7 separate regions of the Homo sapiens genome follow, and regions 1, 3, 4, 5, 6 and 7 are each linked to region 2. The links are contacts of gene promoters, found by promoter capture Hi-C in human tissues and cell types (Jung and others, 2019). All regions are on one chromosome and are shown on one strand. Each heading gives the region's core, a stretch centred on a gene start or on the middle of the fragment in contact. The rest is flanking DNA. Distances are from core to core; before and after follow the strand shown.

Region 1 (2,700 bases), core at 113-2,612, 170 kb after region 2:
AACTTTATGACTGACTACTCATTACTTAGCATCAAACAGTGAAAGATGTATTTATTAGATATCTGTTGCCATGTAACCAGTTACGCCCAAAAGTCAGTGGCTTAAAACAATAATAAGCATGTATTATTTCACACTTTCTGTGGGTCACATAATTATGGAACAGCTCATCTGGTTGGTTCTGGCTTAGAGTATTTCTTGAGATTGTAGTCAAGACATCAGCCTGAGCTGATGCTCAACTGGGGCTGGAGGATCCCCTTCTAAGATGGCTTATTCACATCACTTTTTCTGGTTAGTTTAGGCTTTTGGAAAGAGGCCTCAGTGCCTTACCATGTGTTTCCTCTCCATAGAGATGTTGAGTGTCCTCACAACATGGCAGCCAGTTTTCCTGAGTGACCGATCCAAGAGAAAGTAAAGTGGAAGCCATAATGCCTTTTATGATCTAGCCTCAGAAATCACCCACTGTCATTTCTGCAACATTTTATTGGCCACACAGGTCATCCTGTGCATCATAGGAGGAGACTACACAAGAGTGTGAATACCAGGAAGCAAGGATCACTAGGGCCATCTTGGAGGTTGGCTACCATACACCACCATTCTTTTCCCCCCTTTTGTTGAGAAGAGGAGTAATGCAAATAATGCTGGAAAAATAGAGAAAGATAAAAGGATATAGAGTGTAAAACAAGTCACCTCCCTCTCGTTTCCTACAAGCTGTAATTCTGCACAGGAAGGCTAAGGAGCATGGAGGCAGGGGCACAGATAATATTAAACCAACTAAGCTTCTGCCATTTTTAAGCGATAATGACACCTTTCCCACTAACTCCAAATTCTGAGCCAAGGAGAAACAGACCCAAATGTCAGAATAATAGAGATGAGAATGTCAACCTCGTTACTGGTAATGTTGGATTGAACTTGTGGCCATAGCCCTCCCCTCCATGTCTGGACCTTGGGACTACCTTCCCAAGGGATAATCTGGGTATGTGGGGCAGATTACCTTCCTCAGAATTGCTGCCTCGCCCATGTCAAACACCAGTGTAAGGGACGTAGGGACACAGAGACAGACTTCCAGACTCACCTTCCTGACCTCTGTGTGCTTACAACATAGAGGTGGAGCAGAGCCTCCTTAGCCTGTGGGCAGGCGGTTCAGAGAGGACTGAACCCCCCCTGCTCAGCTACTTCTCCCAGTCTCACCAATCAAATAAATTCACTCCTGTTTCCTTGGAGAAGAGGGAGGGATAGAAATGATACCCCTCTCGGGAAATGAAATGAAACTCTCCTTTATGGCCAAGATACAAACACTGGTAGGGAACAAGGATGGCTGTCCTTGTTAAGGTCACTCAGATGAACCAGTCTGGGCCATCAGTAGTGGGTTGACACACATATCCAAATCCAGTCTTTGTTAGTACTAAGTCTCTACTAAACAGAAAATAGCAGTATTTTGAGTTGTTTTACAATCATAAATGAATTAATGTTATTTCCTATTTATGTTGAAGGTTCGTGCAGACTAACAGTACACCATTTTTTAAAATCACTGCTTTGAATCGCCTTAACCAAAATCTCTTTCTTTTCTAGGCACAGGGTGGTGGTTTCCTATCCTCCTCAGAGTGAGGCAGAACTTGAACTTAAAGAAGGAGATATTGTGTTTGTTCATAAAAAACGAGAGGATGGCTGGTTCAAAGGCACATTACAACGTAATGGGAAAACTGGCCTTTTCCCAGGAAGCTTTGTGGAAAACATATGAGGAGACTGACACTGAAGAAGCTTAAAATCACTTCACACAACAAAGTAGCACAAAGCAGTTTAACAGAAAGAGCACATTTGTGGACTTCCAGATGGTCAGGAGATGAGCAAAGGATTGGTATGTGACTCTGATGCCCCAGCACAGTTACCCCAGCGAGCAGAATGAAGAAGATGTTTGTGTGGGTTTTGTTAGTCTGGATTCGGATGTATAAGGTGTGCCTTGTACTGTCTGATTTACTACACAGAGAAACTTTTTTTTTTTTTTAAGATATATGACTAAAATGGACAATTGTTTACAAGGCTTAACTAATTTATTTGCTTTTTTAAACTTGAACTTTTCGTATAATAGATACGTTCTTTGGATTATGATTTTAAGAAATTATTAATTTATGAAATGATAGGTAAGGAGAAGCTGGATTATCTCCTGTTGAGAGCAAGAGATTCGTTTTGACATAGAGTGAATGCATTTTCCCCTCTCCTCCTCCCTGCTACCATTATATTTTGGGGTTATGTTTTGCTTCTTTAAGATAGAAATCCCAGTTCTCTAATTTGGTTTTCTTCTTTGGGAAACCAAACATACAAATGAATCAGTATCAATTAGGGCCTGGGGTAGAGAGACAGAAACTTGAGAGAAGAGAAGTTAGTGATTCCCTCTCTTTCTAGTTTGGTAGGAATCACCCTGAAGACCTAGTCCTCAATTTAATTGTGTGGGTTTTTAATTTTCCTAGAATGAAGTGACTGAAACAATGAGAAAGAATACAGCACAACCCTTGAACAAAATGTATTTAGAAATATATTTAGTTTTATAGCAGAAGCAGCTCAATTGTTTGGTTGGAAAGTAGGGGAAATTGAAGTTGTAGTCACTGTCTGAGAATGGCTATGAAGCGTCATTTCACATTTTACCCCAACTGACCTGCATGCCCAGGACACAAGTAAAACATTTGTGAGATAGTGGTGGTAAGT
Region 2 (2,700 bases), core at 37-2,536:
ATAAACTGAGACTCCTCGTCAAATCATAAACCTAGTTGGTGGCTGGGCAGAGATTTCTTGCATCATCTGTTGTAACCCTTTCTTCTTATAACCACCTAGTTTCTGCCCACCTTTGAGGAGGGGTATTTGGGATAACTTTTTGTAAATTGATGGTAAATGCAAATATAGTAATGTCAACTTTAGATCAGTGACAAAATTTTAACTTGCTTCTCCACTAAATCGAGACTGAAAAACCTCAAAACCTATGGACAAGATGTTTTTCAAAACTCCACTTCGGTTTACAGGTGTGTGCTTGGGGCAACCAAAACAAAGATTACTGCGATGATGGCAGCCACCCAGGCTCAGATAAAAGAGGCGCCTCTCAGCGTGCTTTGCGGTGCCAGCCCACCTGAGGTCAGACTCAATTCTCCCCACTTAGGGCAGGGATAACAGAGCCCCCGAGCCTGGGTTGGAAGTCCGTACTACCGTTTTCCTAGTCTTGGGCTTTGGGGTCAGCGGTCCTCCAGGCTTGCTCCGGTTTGGGTCCTGGGGTGACTGATGGCTGGGTGCGGACAGGTGGCCGCGGCACTGTCCCCATCGATTCACCACGCCGCTCTCGGCCCTAAGGGGCAACACTTCGCTCCGACTCTACCAAGTAAGTGTCCGGGGTGGGCAACCAGACGCAAAGCGCAGCGGGATCGGTTCCCGCCAGGGCTGCTCCCGCCGCCTCCGCGGACCCAGCCCCTCCCGCGCCGCGACTCGCCCAGCCTGGGGAGGAAGGGTCCGTCCAGGGCTCCCAGCCCCGCCGGGGGGAGGAGGAGGCGGCGGGACCCTGTCCCGGGGCTTCTTCCTGCTTCCCCCAGCCTCCACTCCCGCCGCCTTCCCGTCCGGTGGCTCCATTTTTCAGGCGCGTTCTCCTCAGGGAGAAGGCGTCCGTCCCCGAGCCTTCCCCTCGTAGTCCCCTGGGGGCCCCGCTCCCCATCCTCTAGGCTCTTGCAGCGCCCCCTCAGGCCGCCGCCCCAATCCCGCCCCCGGGCTCCGGCGGGGTACTGGGCGCAGGTCACCTCAGCGCGGGAGGCCGGCGCGGCGGCGGGTGGCTCCGAGAGGTGCCGCGCCCGCTCCCGGGGAAGGCGCTGTGGCGCGGGGCCGCCCCCTTGCGCCCCGGGCGCCGGCTGCGTCCCGGCCTCCTCCTCCTCTTCCTCCGCCCTCCTTGGCTGGGAAAGTGGGAGGCGGCGGCGGCGGCGTGGTGTGTGTGCGCGCGTGAGGGGGGCAGCAGAGAGGAGTCTCCCGGTGCCGCCGCGGCGTCAGAGACACTGCGAGCGGCGAGCGCGGTGGGGCCGCATCTGCATCAGCCGCCGCAGCCGCTGCGGGGCCGCGAACAAAGAGGAGGAGCCGAGGCGCGAGGTAGGGCGCGCGGCCGGCGCGGGGTCGACGGGGACCCAGCGTCGGCGGACCCCTAGCCGCGGAGAAGGCGGTGGTCTCGACATTCCCCCATCCCCGCCCTGGGTCGGTCTCTCTCTCCCCTCGCCCTCGGGTCCCCGTGGGCCGGGAATCAGGACCTGCGGAAGCGGAGCAGCCCGCGGCCTCTGCCTTCTCCGGGCAGGAAGCTGCCAGGGCTCCGTGCCGCGGTCTCCCCGGGCGCAGCCCAGCACCCCCTGCTTCCCGGATGGCGCGGTCTCTCTGGGGACTGTCGCCTTATCTTGGCTGGGCTAGAAAGCTGCTTCCCCGTGGCACTCTGTGGGGCTGAGTTTCGCAACTTAAGCCTGCGCATTTATTTTTAAGTCCTTGAAAACTTCCCGCAGTCGTGTAGAGGGATTTGTGTCCCCGGCCTGAGCTAAAGGGAGGCGGAGATGAGGGAGGCTGTAGGGTGAGATCCCCACGCCGGGACCGGCCGGGCCGCAGCCCCAGGCCGCGACCGGCTCCTGCCGGGTGCCGCCGACACCTGGCCCCGGGGTGTGTCTGCGGCGAGCGGCCGCCGCGCCTCCCTGCGGGCTTGGGAGTACCTGTGCTTGGCGCCGTGGGAGCGGGGGTGCAGCCCTGGGGCTCCCCCGCTCCGGCTTTGTCAAGAACAGCTGTTAATGCTCCCAGCCAAATCTTTTTACTCCCGTTCTCCTGGGCATTCACTTTTACATTTATTTTGGCGGTGGGGGGAGAGCGGCGCAGTAAGTGGCTTGCTTTTTCCTGAATGGCCTCATTTTCATATGCCCACAGTTTCCAGTCCAACCTTCCATTGTCGAATTCTTTTGGTGATAATTTTGCCAGCTTTTCTGAATGGGATTAGGACAGGCCGTTCAGAAATGTGTTTCAGAGTTTATCAACTACTGCCCTGAAGGGCGCTTTTCTGTTTTAGCTGCTTTCAAGCAAATCTGTGTCTTTTAGAATTGTCAACCTTCAGCTCTTTTTGGTTGGGCAAAATTAAACAGTTCTATTTTTAATAACAGCGAAGAAACATATGTATTTAATATTGGGATCATTTACCACGAGCGATTACATGAGGCATGGTTTCTTAAACGCTAAAGTGGCTTAAAAAAGGGAATTTAGTTGGATATAAAAGTAAATTTCAGGTAGAGGAAACTTTCAATGGCCTCTGTCAGCTTCTCCTATGAGTTGAAGACTTTATTAAGGCAGCTGATACCACTTTCAGAGCTTAAGAAATTATGTTCCTTATTGCACTTCATAAATCCTTCTGCGGGAATTATGTAATACTCTGTGCCTTGTGTT
Region 3 (2,700 bases), core at 72-2,571, 150 kb before region 2:
AGTGCATTACTCACATGTTTGTGGTGATGCTGATGTAAACAAACCTACCACACTGCTAGTCCTATAAAAGTTTAGGACATACAATTATGTACAGTACCTAATGCTTGACAACAATAATAATTGACTGCATGCCTGGTTTGTGTATTTTTAATACTTTACTTTTTATCATTATTTTGGAGTGTTCTACGTATTAAAAGAAAGTGAACTGTAAAACGGCCTCAGGCAGGTCCTTCAGGAGGTATTTCAGTGTATAGTGTATAGTTATCACAGGAGATGACAGCTTCATTCGTGTTATTGCCCTTGAAGACTTTCTAGATTGGAGGTGGAAGACAGTGATGTTGATGATCCTGACCCTCTGTAGGCATAGGCTGACGTGTGTGTTTGTGTCTTCAAGTTTATAAAGTGAAAAGGTTACAGTAAGATAAGGTTAATTTATTGAAGACAGAAAATTTTTAAATACATTTAGTGTAGTCTATGTATACAATGTTTATAAAGTCCACAGTAGTGTACGCTAATGTCCCAGGCCTTCACATTTCACTCACCACTCACTCACTGGCTTACCCAGGGCAACTTCCAGTTCCACAAGCTCCATTCATGGTAAGTACCTATACAGGTGCACCATTTTTAATCTTTTATATGGTATTTTGACTATACCTTAGTGTTTAGATAGACAAATATTTACCATTGTATTACAATCTTCTATAATATTGAGTGTAGTAACATGCTATACAGGTTTTGTAGCCTAGGAACAATAGGCTGTACCACATATCCTAGATATGTAGTAGGCTAATACCATCTAGGTTTGTGTAATTACACTCTATGATGTTCACACAATGACAAAATTGCCTAACAACACTTTTCTCGTAACGTATCTTTGTTAAGCAAAGCATGACTGTACTTCCATTCCCGTCCTGCCTGTCCTTCGTGGTATTGTTGTCGGGTATTTTTTCTACCACGTTATAAATTCCACAATACATTTTTATTATTTTTGCTTAAACATTCATTTATCTTTTACAGAAGTCAGAAATTGGAAAGTATTTTATATTTACATGTTTACTATTTCTGACATTTTTTGTTCCTTTGTGCAGAATTCAAGTTTCTATCTGGTATTCTTTTTCTTCCACTTTAAGAACTTCCATTAACACTTCTTACACAGCCCTGTTGATGATGATTTTTTTTTTCAGATTTTGTTTGTATGAAAGTGTTTTCATTTCACCTTCATTTTGAGTGGATATTTTCACTAGATATAGAATTATATTGTCTTCTGGGTTGCATTGTTTCTAAGAAATATGTGAGCTTTCTTATCTTCATGTATATAGAGTATCTTTCTCTCTGGCTTCTTTTACAGTTTCCTTTTTATCACTGGTTTCTAGCATTTTGATTATTAAATGCTTTGGTAAGGGTTTTGGGGAGTAAGGTTTTTGGAGTAAGGTTTTATAGGACTAGCAGTGTGGTAGGTTTGTTTATATCAGCATCACCACAAACATGAGTAATTCATTAAACTATGACACTACAATGCCATTAGGTGGTGAGAGGAATTTTTCAGCTTTATTATAATCTTATGGGACCAATGCTGTATATGGGGTCTGTAATGTGTGTGTGTTTATCCTGTTTTGGGGTTCATTGATCTTCTTGGACCCTTAGGTTTATACTTTTCATTAAATTTGGAAAAGTTTTGGCTATTATTTCAATTAAATATTTTTTCTCTCTCTCTACTACCTTTTCTGTGACTCCAGTTACATATGTTAGACTCTTTGATACCATTCCACGGGTCACTAAGATTATGTTCATTTTGTTTTCAGTCTTTTTTTCTCTCTGTACTTCCTTGTGGATAAATTCTATTAGTATGTATTCATGTTTACTTATCTTTTTTCTGCAATAATATACTATTAATCCCACTCAGTGAACCTTTTATTTCGATATTGTGTGTTTTATCTTTAGAAGTTGTTTTTGTGTCTTTCATTTCTCTCCACATTATGTTCGTGTTTATCCTTTAATACTCCATTAAAATAGCTGGCTTAATATCCTTATGTGCGAGTTCCATCATCTCTGTATCTTCTTCTGTTGACTTATTTTTCTACTGGTTATGGATCATATTGTCCTACTTCTGGGTGTGTTTTATAATTCTTTATTTGAAGGTGGACCTTGTGAATATTATATTCCTAGGTCTCTGATTTTTTTGTTATTACTATCTTCCTGTAAAGAGTATTGGGTTTAAGTTAGTCAAGTTACTTGTGGATCTATTTTACACTTTTAAACTTTGTTTTTAAGCTTTGCTAGGACAAGTGTAAAGTTGTCTTCATTCTAGAGCTAGTTAACTTATTTCCAAGGCATGACCCTCTAGGGCCTCCACTGTACATCACAGGTGATCTTGAGGAAACACCTCCCTCCCGGTCAGTTTGATCATCTCCTACCTGCATGAGCTCTGAGCATTGTTCAGCTTACAACTCCCCAGCTGTTTTGGCCTAGCTTTGTGAAGTTTCATTCTGCATATTCATGGCCTGTGCTCATCAAAGACTCAAGAAAACTACCTTGCAAAGTTTTGAAGTTTTTTTTGTTTTATTTTAATGAATCTCTCTTTTCTAGTTCTACCTCCCTGGACTTTGATCTTTGTCTCATCAGTCTAGCAAGGCTGCACCCAAAGTCCAGATATTTTCTCCAGGCAGAAAGCCAGTTTAGTGGTAGGGTTTACTTCATTCA
Region 4 (2,700 bases), core at 11-2,510, 150 kb after region 2:
TTTGCTCACATACACACAAATTTACACATGCAAACATGCATGCACTGGGAAAAGATCTGCCCAATTGTATTAAACCATTTATGTTTCAGCCACAGAAAGTGAGAGAGAACTCTTTTCTGTCAGGAAGAACCTTTGGGATCTTTCAGAATATCCTCTTTGATGCCATATCTTAATGTCTAACTCTCACTGTTTGCAAAAGTAATGTACATGAAACATTTAACTTAGTGTATTTTGTGACAAGAAGTGATTTTATATTTTATTACAAAATTTTATTTATATTACAAAAGATGACATGTTTTTATCAGGTGCATAGATGATTTTTGTCCTTTTCTTTTTAGGTCAAATTAGTACAGCCTCTGTTTTAATAAAGTTAAGCTATAATAGATGATTTTAATTTCTGTTTGAGCACATGCCATTAGTTTTCTGCCTTTCCACAGCCACACTGTTTTGAGATTGAGCTTAGAAAGATTTAAATGGAAATCAGTGAAGTGGTAATTTTACAGTTTCTCCATATATTACTCTATATACAGTGTAGACCGATTATCTCACCTGTCAAACTGCTGATGCATTATTATCCATGAACTGTCCAGGTCACATTTGCTGTGACCAGGATTATCTTTATCTCTGCTTTGTCACTGGAAAGAAGCCTAACAGGATAAATGCTTGCCCTTCTCCTGGTTAAAGGTTTTGGAGGCTCTAAGCCTCAGTACATGCAAATTCCAGAGCTATAACAATTTTTTTTTTTTTTGAGACGGAGTCTTGCTCTGTCACCCAGGTTGGAGTGCAGTGGCGCAATCTTGGCTCACTGCAAGCTCCGCCTCCCGGGTTCACGCCATTCTCCTGCCTCAGCCTCCCGAGTAGCTGGGACTACTGGCACCCGCCATCACACCCGGCTAATTTTTTTGTATTTTTAGTAGAGATGGGGTTTCACCGTGTTAGCCAAAATGGTCTCGATCTCCTGACCTCGTGATCCGCCCGCCTCAGCCTCCCAAAGTGCTGGGATTACAGGCGTGAGCCACTGCGCCTGCGAGCTATAACAAATCTTAATGGTGCCATATTTTGAATTGAGAATGTGAGCCACATTTTCCTGACGTTCCAACTTTTTGAGCTAACCTCTGCCTTCTCCTGGTTTGCACTTTGTAAGTGGCTCTGCACCTCATTTGTTTCTGCACTAAATGTTCTGCAACCACTTTAGCTACAGTGTGGGAAAAATCTTTATTGAAAGTCGCTTTAGCAAAAAATTAAACATAATGCATCGAATAGTTACAGCGTGCGTCTAGAAATTTGAAATTTTTTTCCACTCAGTTCGTTATGTTTCTGGAACTATGTATGTCTATATTAACAGCCAGATGTATTATAGTGAATGGTGATGAAATTCAAATTTTTATTCCAAAAAACAGAAATAAGATGACTGGTATAAGCTCTGTTTAGAAATCATTGGATCTTTATTTTGTTAATATGCTGACATATAGAAGCCATTTACACTTAACTAGGTAAATTCTTTAGTCTTCTTATTTCTCCTTTGACTTAGTTTTTACATCTAGTTGTTCAAAGATCTGGAGAGGACGAGGTAGCGGTTCAGGCAGTCTTTGTGTGCCTGTTTTCCCAAGAGTTTCAGTATACAGACCCTAAAGAATTATCTGGGTTTATAGATCAGAAGGTAACAATTGCTCCATTGATTTTCAAAAGGCATGGAATCCTGTAGGCAGAACCCCATTAGGCTGTGCCCATAAAGGAACCAGCAGCTTTTCACTGGTGTACTTGTTAAAGATTACCAGCCTCGATAGTACCAAATTTCAAAAGCTGGCAAAGTTAAGAAAAGAATAAGCAAAAGTAGCAACAATGGTCCAGTGACTGTGGCTTACTATTGTTTGGGCTTTTTGTAGACCAGGCATCAAAGGAAATTTTCTTCTGAAGGAATGATTTGAGATATAGTACAGCTACATTGTGTGTTGTGTTTAAGTTTCAGATTACAGAAACAATCACAAATTAATTCCTAGCAAGCAGCATGACATGGCTACCCGCCTCGAAAGGCATTTGGATCCTTGTCCAAGTCCATACTTTAAAATGCTATTAATCTTAAGATTACATGCAATTGTTTCATTTTTTTTCTTTCCCTCCTCCCAAGGGTGATTACTTACCTGCTTGCTGAAAAGGTTGCTTTGGCTTTAATATTTTAAAGGAGAACAAGAGATGAATTTGTAGAAGCAGGCTTTCATATCAGTTAGCCTGCTGATTCTGCCCTGTGTGGATTCCATTAAAGTCTTGTTCTATGGATTTATAATTCTTTTTCTCTCCCACCTTCCATAGGAAGATGTAAATCAGTATTTTGTTCCCTTTTTTCCCTTTCTCTTTATGTTTTTCCTATACTAGACTTTGAATCCTCCTCTTCCACCACCCCCTCTCCTGGCTGCCACTGTCCTTGCCTCCACACCACCAGGCGCCACCGCCGCTGCTGCTGCTGCTGGAATGGGACCGAGGCCCATGGCAGGATCCACTGACCAGATTGCACATTTACGGCCGCAGACTCGCCCCAGTGTGTAAGTGAGCGTGTCGTCTGTTACTGCTTATGTGTTCATTTAAACGAAGTCCAAACCTCAGAGGTCAAGAAACACCTTTCTGACATGAGCTGATGACAGCGTTATGGCTCACCAAGCGGTCTGTGTCCTGCAAACTTCTACCTGGTCATGCATGTAACTA
Region 5 (2,700 bases), core at 87-2,586, 230 kb after region 2:
TGGAGATGCAGAAGCCATTCCATTATATCAACATAACATGATAAGCCAAGACCCTAAAGATGCTGAGAAAAATGGTCAAAAGAGCTTGGGGTTTTTTTGGTTTTTTTGTTTGTTTGTTTTGTTTTTTTTGAGGCAGTGGTCTCACTGTGTTGCCCAAGCTGGTCTCAAACTCCTGGCCTCAGGCTTCAGCCTCTCAAAACTGCTAGGATTACAAGTGTGAGCCACTGCATGAGACTGGGCTGTTTTTTGTTTGGTTTGGTTTTTTTAGAGACAGGGTCTTGCTCTGTCACCCAGGCTAAAATGTAGGGATGTGATCATAGCTCACTGCAGCCTCAACCTCCTTGGCTCAAGTGATCCTCCCACCTCAGCCTCCCAAGTAGCTGGGAATACAGACATGCACTACCACACCCAGCTAATTAAAAAAACAAAGTTTAGTAGAGACGGAGGTCTCCCTATGTTGCCCAGGCTGGTCTCGAACTCCTCACCTCAAGTAATCCTCCTACCTTGGCCTCCCAAATTGTTGGAATTACAAGCGTGAGCCACCATGCCCAGTACTGTCTGGTTTCTTAATAACATTGTTGAGCCATTGCAATAGCCTTGGGATATTGCTCTTTGTACTTTTTCTTATGCAAGAAAAACAGATTCACAAGTTATTTGATGACTCTCTTCCCATCAAAAGGAAAAGTCTAATTCTTTTTCCCTTGATTATGGATCAGCTTGAGCTTGTTGCTTCTAACAAATGGAAGAGAGCAACATGCTGGAGTGATCACATGGAGGAAGCACAAAGGGATACATGCCCAAGGGGCCCCAGCTGTTCCAGCCCCTAGACATTTGAATCTACTCAGGCACCAAGTAAGCAGGTGAATAGCCTTCAGGTGATTGCGGCCCACTCCCAGCTGAAGCCAAGTGGAGCGCAGATGAGCTTCCCCTGCTGAGCCCTGCCCAAATTGCAGATTTGGAAGCAAAATGAATATTGTTTTAAGCCACAAATTTGTGAGTGTTTTGTTACATAGTATAAGGAGCCAGAACAGCTCTACAGATGTAAATTATAGTCAGATATGTTGCTATTTATAACCAAAGCATTCCTAACTTATAAATGTTTCAACATTAATAAGCAGAAGAAAGTGTAATAATCTTATCAAGGTAATACAAGTTACTTGTTTAATATAACCACCTTCATGGCAAGCCTCAATTTCATAACCTAATCACTTTGAGTACAACTTGGACCTAATGGGTAGCTTTTTTTTTTTTTTTTTTTTTGAGACAGGGTCTTGCTCTGTCACCCAGGATGGAGTACAGTGACACAATCATGGCTCAGCACAGTCTCAAACTCCTGGGCTGAAATGATCCTCCTACCTCAGCATCCTGAGTAGCTGGGACTAAAGGCAGGCCCCACTATGCCCAGCTAATTTATAATTTTTTTTTTTTTCTGTAGAGATGGAGCCTTGCTATGTTGCCCAGGCTGATCTTGAGCTCCTGGGCTCAAGCAGTCCTCCAGCTCAACATCCCCAAGTATTGGGATTATAGGCATGAACCACCACTCTTGGCCTCTGTGTAGCATTTTATAGAAAATATAAAGTTGATATTATAAATTTTATATTAACAGATTTCTATAATTAAAAATCTTGGCTAGATTGTTTTTCCTTTACTCTTTTTTTTTGAGATGGAGTTTCACTCTTGTTGCCCAGGCTGGAGTGCAATGGCACCATCTCGGCTCACTTCAACCTCTGCCTCCCGGGTTCAAGTGATTTTCTTGCCTCAGCCTCCTGAGTAGCTGGGATTACAGGCATGCACCACCACGCCTGGCTAATTTTGTATTTTTAGTAGAGATGGGGTTTCTCCATGTTGGTCAGGCTGGTCTCGAACTCCCAACCTCAGGTGATCCGCCCGCCTCAGCCTCCCAAAGTGCTGGGATTACAGGCATGAGCCACCATGCCTGGCCTCCTCTACTCTTTCATTAGTAGAGTTAATATCCATTCATTGCGCACTTGCTATGTGCTAGGTGCTAAGGACACAATAGTGAACAAGATTAATCACCTGAGATCCTTGTCCTAATGAAGCTTACCTTCTGGGGGGGAAAACATGATAAAAATGCAGACAAGTATGTTAATATAATAATTTCAGATCATAATGTGAAGAAATTAGTGTGGGATATGTGGGGGAGATGGGGAATAGATAGTTTTGCTTTAGTTAAAATGTCAGGGAAGGCATCTCTAAAGAAGAAACATCAGAGATGAGACCTGGATGATGAAGGGAGCCAGCCATGGGAAGTTCTGGGGTAGAAGTGCTTCAGACTAAGGGAATAGCCAGTGCAAAGAGCCTGTAGCCAGAATAAGGTTGGTAGAGTCCAGAACAGAAATTAAAAAAAAGTGGGGACAGAGGGTGGGGTGGGGGAGATGGTACTAAGTGAGAGAAGGGGAGCAGACAGGACCCATATCCCTTAGGTCCTTGTAGGCCATAGTAAAGAATCTGGAAGTTATTTCTGTAAGTGCAATGTTAAAGGTACTGACAGGATATGCTTTGCACTTTTAAAAGATCACACTATGGAGAATGGAGTGCAGAGGGGCAAGAGTTGAAGCAAGGAGACCCATTAGAAGGCTGTGGCAGTAATCAAGAAGAGATGATTACGGCTTGATTACACATTGGCAATGGAGGTGGTGAGGAGCTCTGAGATCTGGGATAAATTGAGACAGAGCTTGA
Region 6 (2,700 bases), core at 133-2,632, 180 kb before region 2:
ATTACCTTTTTGTTGATGTTGATGCTATTCCTTACTGTTAGTTTTCCTTTAATAGTCAGGTCCCTCAGCTGCAGATCTGTTAGAGTTTGCTGGAGTTCCACTCCAGACCCTGTTTGCCTGGGTACCACCAGTGGAGGCTGCAGAACAGCAAATATTGAAGAACAGCAAATATTGCTGCCTGATCCTTCCTCTGGAAGCTTTGTCCCAGAGTGGCAGCCACCTATATGAGGTGTCAGTCAGCCCCTACTGGGAGATGTCTCCCAGTTAGGCTGCGTGGGGGTCAGGGACCCAGTTGAGGAGGCAGTCTATCTTTTCTCAGAGCTCAAGCACCATGCTGGGAGAACCACTGCTCTCTTCAGAGCTGTTAGACAGGGTCGTTTAAGTCTGCAGAAATTGTCTGCTGCCTTTTGTTCAGCTATGCCCTGCCCACAGAGGTGGAGACTACTGAGGCGGTAGGCCTTGTTGAGCTGCGGTGGGCTCCGCCCATTTTGAACTTCTGGGCAGCTTTGTTTACCTACTCAAGCCTCAGCAATGGCGGATGCCCCTCCCCGAGTCAGGCTGCTGCCTGGCAGATCCATCTCAGACTGCTGGGCTAGCAGTGAGCAAGGCTCTGTGGGCGTGGGACCTGCCGAGCCAGGCACAGGAGAGAATCACCTAGTCTGCCGGTTGCTAAGACCTTGGGAAAAGCACAGTATTTGGGTGGGGAGTGTCCCGTGTTTCCAGGTAGTCTGTCACGGCTTCCCTTGGCTAGGAAAGGGAAATCCCCCGACTCATTGCGCTTCCCAGGTGAGGTGATGCCCCACCCTGCTTCGGCTCACCCTCCGTGGGCTGCACCCACTGTCCAACCAGTCCCATTGAGATGAACCAGGTACCTCAGTTGGAAATGCAGAAATCACCCATCTTCTCCATCAAGCACGCTGGAAGCTGTAGACTGGAGCTGTTCCTATTCCGCCATCTTGGAACTCCTGTTGAGTCTTCTTTTTTAATCTATTCAGCCACTCTCTGTCTTTTGATTGGAGAGTTTATTCCATTTACATTCAATGGGATTATTACAAGTAAAGACTTAATTCTGCCATTTTGTTATTTGTTTTCTGGTTGTTTTGTGGACTTCTCTTCCTTCCTTCCTTCATATCTTCATTTTAGAGAAGGTGATTTCTTTAGTGGTATGTTTTAATTTCTTGCTTTTTATTTTTTTGCGTATCTGTTGTATGATTTTTTATTTTTGAGGGTACTATGAGGTATAAATACTATCTTATAACCCACTATTTTAAACTGATGACAACAGTGATTGCAAAAACAGATACCAAACAAGCAAATAAAAAACTAATAAAGACTCTAACTTTGTCCCTCACTTTTCAACTTTTTGTTTCTATTTGTATCTTACTGTATTGTCTCTCAAAAAGTTGTAATTTTTTTTTTCTTGAGACAGGGACTCACTCTGTCACCCAGGCTGGAGGGCAGTGGCACAATCTCAGCTTACTACAACTTCCACCTTCTGGCTCAGGTGATCTCACATCAGCCTCCCAAGCAGCTGGGACTACAAGCATGTCCCACTGCTTGTAGCCACCACACATGGCTAAATTTTTTTGTATTTTTTTTTTGTAGAGAAAGGGTTTTGCCTGTTGCCCAGGCTGGTTTCATGTTGCATGTTGCCCAGGCTGGTTTCAAATTCCTGGGTTCCAGCAATCCTCCCACCTCAGCCTTCCAAAGTTCTAGGATTACAGGCATAAGCCATCACACCTCACATAATGTTTATTTATTTTATTTCATTTTATTTTTTGAGACAGAGTCTCACTCCGTTGCCCGGGCTGGAGTGCAGTGGCACGATCTCGGCTCACTGCAGCCTCCACCTCCCGGGTTCAAGTGATTCTCCTGCCTCAGCCTCCCGACTAGTCTGGATCACAGGTGTGTGCCACCACACCTGGCTAATTTTTTTGTATTTTTAATAGAGATGGGATTTTAGCATGTTGGCCAGGCTGGTCTCAAACTTCTCACCTCAAGTGATCCACCCGCCTTCACCTCCCAAAATGCTGGGATTACAGGCGTGAATAATTTTTATTTTCAATCAGTTCATCTTTTAGTCTTTCTACTCAAGATATGAGTAGCTTACACACCACAATTACAGTGTTCTAATATTCTGTGTTTTTCTGTATACTTACTATTACTGGTGAATTTTACACCTTCAGATGATTTCTTATTACTCATTATTGTCCTATTCTTTCATATTAAAGAACTCCTTTTAGCATTTCTTATGGGACAGGTCTTGTGTTGATGAAATCCCTCAGCTTTTGTTTGTCTGGTAGTCTTTATTTCTTCATTATGTTTGAAGGATATTTTCTCTGGATATACTATTTTAGGATAAAAGTTTTTTTCCTTCAGTACTTTAAATATGTCCTGTCACTCTCTCCTGGCCAGTAAGATTTTTGCTGAAAAGTCTGCTGCCAGACACAAAGTCTGCTGCTGCTTTTCTCCTTTGTTTGTCTTTGACCTTTTGGAGTTTGATTAGTAAATGTCTTGAGGTAGTCTTCCTTGGATTACATCTGCTTGGTGTTCTATAACCTTCTTGTAGTTGAATATTGGTATCTTTTTCTAGGTTCAGGAAGTTCTCTGACATTATCCCTTTGAATAAACTTTGTACCCCGGTCTCTCTACTTCCTCGTTACAACGAATCACTCTTAGATTTGCCCTTCTGAGTCTGTT
Region 7 (2,700 bases), core at 13-2,512, 250 kb after region 2:
TCTCTCCTTCCTTCCTTCTTTCTCTCTTTCTTTCTTTCTTTCTCTCTCTCTCTCTCTCCTTCCTTCGTTTCTTTTTATTTTTCTTTCTTTCTTTTTTTGAGATAGTCTTGCTCTGTCACCCAGGCTGGAGTGCAGTGATGCAATCTTGGCTCACCACAGCCTTGATCTCCTGGGCTCAAGCAATCCTCCCACCTCAGACTCTTGGGTAGTTAGTACTACAGGCGCCACCACACCCAGCTAATTTTGGTAGAGACGGGATCTCCCTATGTTGGCCTGGCTGGTCTTGAACTCCTGGGCTCAAGCAATCTGCCCGCCTCAGCCTCCCAAAGTGCTGGGATTATAGGCATGAGCCACCGTGCCTGGCCTAGCATGCTCTTTGCGTGGCAAACCAGCTCATGCAAATAAACAGCTGTGTAGGGGACTTCGCCAGCCTCACCTGTCCAGACGTGAATCTCAGTGTAAGCTAAGAAAAGACCAACTGTGCACACTGTCTTCCTATTGGATCGCCTGTGTGAATTCAGTTGGTCTGACTGAATCACTAACTCCGTCCTCCCTCACTGCTCACTGTTTCTTTCCCTGGTGTTTGTTTATGTTACAATTAAAAATGACTGTTTTCCAATCAAGGATGTAGACCCAGTTAGAGCTTCTTTAGATTCCAGTGGGACAAAGGAAGCTCCCTGTTTTATACTTGGTCTTACCCAAAAGGACAAGAAGTGATCCCTCCTCTTTTCATTGCTGCCTTTTTGGCTTAGCGCATGCAACAGCAGTTGGGATGTGTGTTAGTTACCACGAAAATGCCAGTTGCTATAACAAAGAACCTGATAGAACAGAGATTTAAGCAAGAGAGAAGTTTATTCTCTCTCAGGTCTCAAAGCTGATATGGGACCTCTACCATGTCAAACATCCAGCCACCCATGCTGTTGTTACTCTGCCATACTCAACACACAGCTCCAATCCCTGTGTCCAGTATGGCTGCTCTGGCTCTCACCATCATGTCTATAACTAGCCAGCAAGAAGGTGGAAAGTAGAATAGAAGGAAATATTTTTTTCCTTTTATGGGCATGACCAGGAAGTTCCCACACAATTTTTGCTTAAATCCTGTTAACCTGACTTTAGAAGCATGGCCCTACTTAGCTGTAAGGGAGGTGAGGCTGGGAAGTATGGTCTTTATTCTGGATATTCTGTTATCACAACAGAATTATACACTTTCAGCATCTAGCAGAATCAGGTACAATGTCCTCTAGATTTGGGGCCAGACAGGAATGCTACAATTTTGGGTGGTGGTTCTCAACCAGGGCAATTTTGCTCCCCTCTACCCCACTCCGCCCCCATCCCCTTCTAGGAGACATTTGGCAATGTCTGGAGATATCATTGTTTGTCACAACTGTGAGGATGTACGTTACTGGCATCTAGTGGATAGATGCTGCAAATATTCTGTGGTGCACAAGACAACCCCCAACAACAACAAAAATTATACATCCTAAAATGTCAATATTGTTGAGTTTGAGAAATCCTGCCTTAGGAATCTATCTTTACAAAGTCTTAGCCCACCACATGTTAATCTCTCTCAGCTTTCATTTGTGGCTTTTCCAATACAATTTCTGAGATTCAGGCATATCAATGTGCTTCCAATAAATCAGAACTGTAAGACACTGTTAGCTCTGTTTGCCATAGGTCATTTTAACAAGAAAATGAAACTTTTTTGACCCCTATCCATAGTTCCACGACCACCATTACTTACCCAGCTTTAGTTCTGAAGAGAAAGGTTTCCTTCTTTGGGTTTTCTGAAGCTATTTAATAATATACAATAACCCACTAATCCAGAGTAAAGAAGAAATCTGTTCAATTAAAGGCAAGTGTAATTGTGTATAATTAATCATAGTCTTCTTAAGGGAAATAAACATAATTTGTTTTTAGTAAGAAGGAATCTATAATTATTCGGTGACAGAGGAAAAACCATTCATTAATATATCATGTTTACTTTGAATGTAGTGAAATGCATTGTAGTTTTTGCTGTTAGTTTTAGGCATGAAAAACTGTGTGTTAAATCTTGTCATTTCTGGTTCTGATAATCTGCTTTGATGACAGATTAAAAATGCAGTTTGTCATATCAGGACATTAATCTTAAATAATCTACCTGAGAGAACAGTACCAAACCCTCCGGAGAGGTTTCCAACATGAGATGGTGACACTTCTTAATAAGCTCAGGATTAGTGATGTAACTTGTCACTGGTTCAGCTGGAAAAAGTAGAAAAATGACACAGTTGCTGCAGTGACCACTCAGGAGTTGTGTTCTATAAATCTGGAAAATCAACTTCTGGAAATTCTCCCCTGAGATGAAGATGTACTGTGTGTCAGCCATGCATCACAGAAATCTTTCATTATTTTAGGTTGTTATTTAGACATCATATATTTTTCTTGTGGACAGACACAAGCATACTGTTCTTCATTTCCTATTCTTCCGGATCTGAGCACTTTCCTTTTGGGTTCATAGGACTTTGTAATTAACTCTCTTAAAACATCATTTCACAGGGAGTCACGTGCTACCTTTGCATTTTTATTCCATTTCTACCTATTTTATTTTTCATATCTTTGTTATTTGCCTTTCCAATGAGACAGTGTCTTGAAGAAAATGTTTATTTCTTTTATTTTGTTTATCCCACAACATTTAGTACAATTCCTTATATGTACTTATATGTA

What was found. The method cuts DNA at HindIII sites, captures the fragments that hold promoters and counts their contacts. A contact is called where the count stands out against the background at its distance.
Region 1: a fragment that was not itself captured here is called in contact with the fragment with the promoter of SH3RF1 in region 2 in 1 of the 25 tissues and cell types used here (dorsolateral prefrontal cortex).
Region 3: a fragment that was not itself captured here is called in contact with the fragment with the promoter of SH3RF1 in region 2 in 1 of the 25 tissues and cell types used here (mesendoderm cells).
Region 4: a contact is called between a fragment that was not itself captured here and the fragment with the promoter of SH3RF1 in region 2, in 1 of the 25 tissues and cell types used here (dorsolateral prefrontal cortex).
Region 5: a contact is called between a fragment that was not itself captured here and the fragment with the promoter of SH3RF1 in region 2, in 1 of the 25 tissues and cell types used here (lymphoblastoid cells).
Region 6: a contact is called between a fragment that was not itself captured here and the fragment with the promoter of SH3RF1 in region 2, in 1 of the 25 tissues and cell types used here (IMR-90 fibroblasts).
Region 7: a fragment that was not itself captured here is called in contact with the fragment with the promoter of SH3RF1 in region 2 in 2 of the 25 tissues and cell types used here (dorsolateral prefrontal cortex and mesendoderm cells).

What each region holds. Positions count from the first base shown.
Region 1 is chr4:169,095,557-169,098,256 of GRCh38, reverse strand. It overlaps SH3RF1 (SH3 domain containing ring finger 1), which reads left to right. Exons shown (of 12, transcript NM_020870.4): 12 at 1,570-2,700. The coding sequence ends at 1,738. Among named protein-coding and RNA genes, the nearest start is that of CBR4-DT, 86 kb to the right of the region's middle. The HindIII fragment of the contact is 3,239 bases long and covers 1-2,700 here.
Region 2 is chr4:169,269,542-169,272,241 of GRCh38, reverse strand. It overlaps SH3RF1 (SH3 domain containing ring finger 1), which reads left to right and starts at 1,286. Exons shown (of 12, transcript NM_020870.4): 1 at 1,286-1,383. RefSeq lists silencers at 656-805, 846-1,605, 1,846-2,065. The HindIII fragment of the contact is 13,720 bases long and covers 1-2,700 here.
Region 3 is chr4:169,417,818-169,420,517 of GRCh38, reverse strand. All of the region lies in intron 31 of NEK1 (NIMA related kinase 1), which reads left to right. Among named protein-coding and RNA genes, the nearest start is that of SH3RF1, 150 kb to the right of the region's middle. The HindIII fragment of the contact is 7,668 bases long and covers 1-2,700 here.
Region 4 is chr4:169,121,940-169,124,639 of GRCh38, reverse strand. SH3RF1 (SH3 domain containing ring finger 1) reads left to right here. Exons shown (of 12, transcript NM_020870.4): 7 at 2,374-2,540. Among named protein-coding and RNA genes, the nearest start is that of CBR4-DT, 110 kb to the right of the region's middle. The HindIII fragment of the contact is 4,240 bases long and covers 1-2,700 here.
Region 5 is chr4:169,043,137-169,045,836 of GRCh38, reverse strand. No RefSeq gene overlaps it. Among named protein-coding and RNA genes, the nearest start is that of CBR4-DT, 34 kb to the right of the region's middle. The HindIII fragment of the contact is 5,908 bases long and covers 1-2,700 here.
Region 6 is chr4:169,446,949-169,449,648 of GRCh38, reverse strand. The region is part of intron 27 of NEK1 (NIMA related kinase 1); the gene reads left to right. Among named protein-coding and RNA genes, the nearest start is that of NEK1, 160 kb to the left of the region's middle. The HindIII fragment of the contact is 5,371 bases long and covers 1-2,700 here.
Region 7 is chr4:169,023,661-169,026,360 of GRCh38, reverse strand. No RefSeq gene overlaps it. Among named protein-coding and RNA genes, the nearest start is that of CBR4-DT, 15 kb to the right of the region's middle. The HindIII fragment of the contact is 5,084 bases long and covers 1-2,700 here.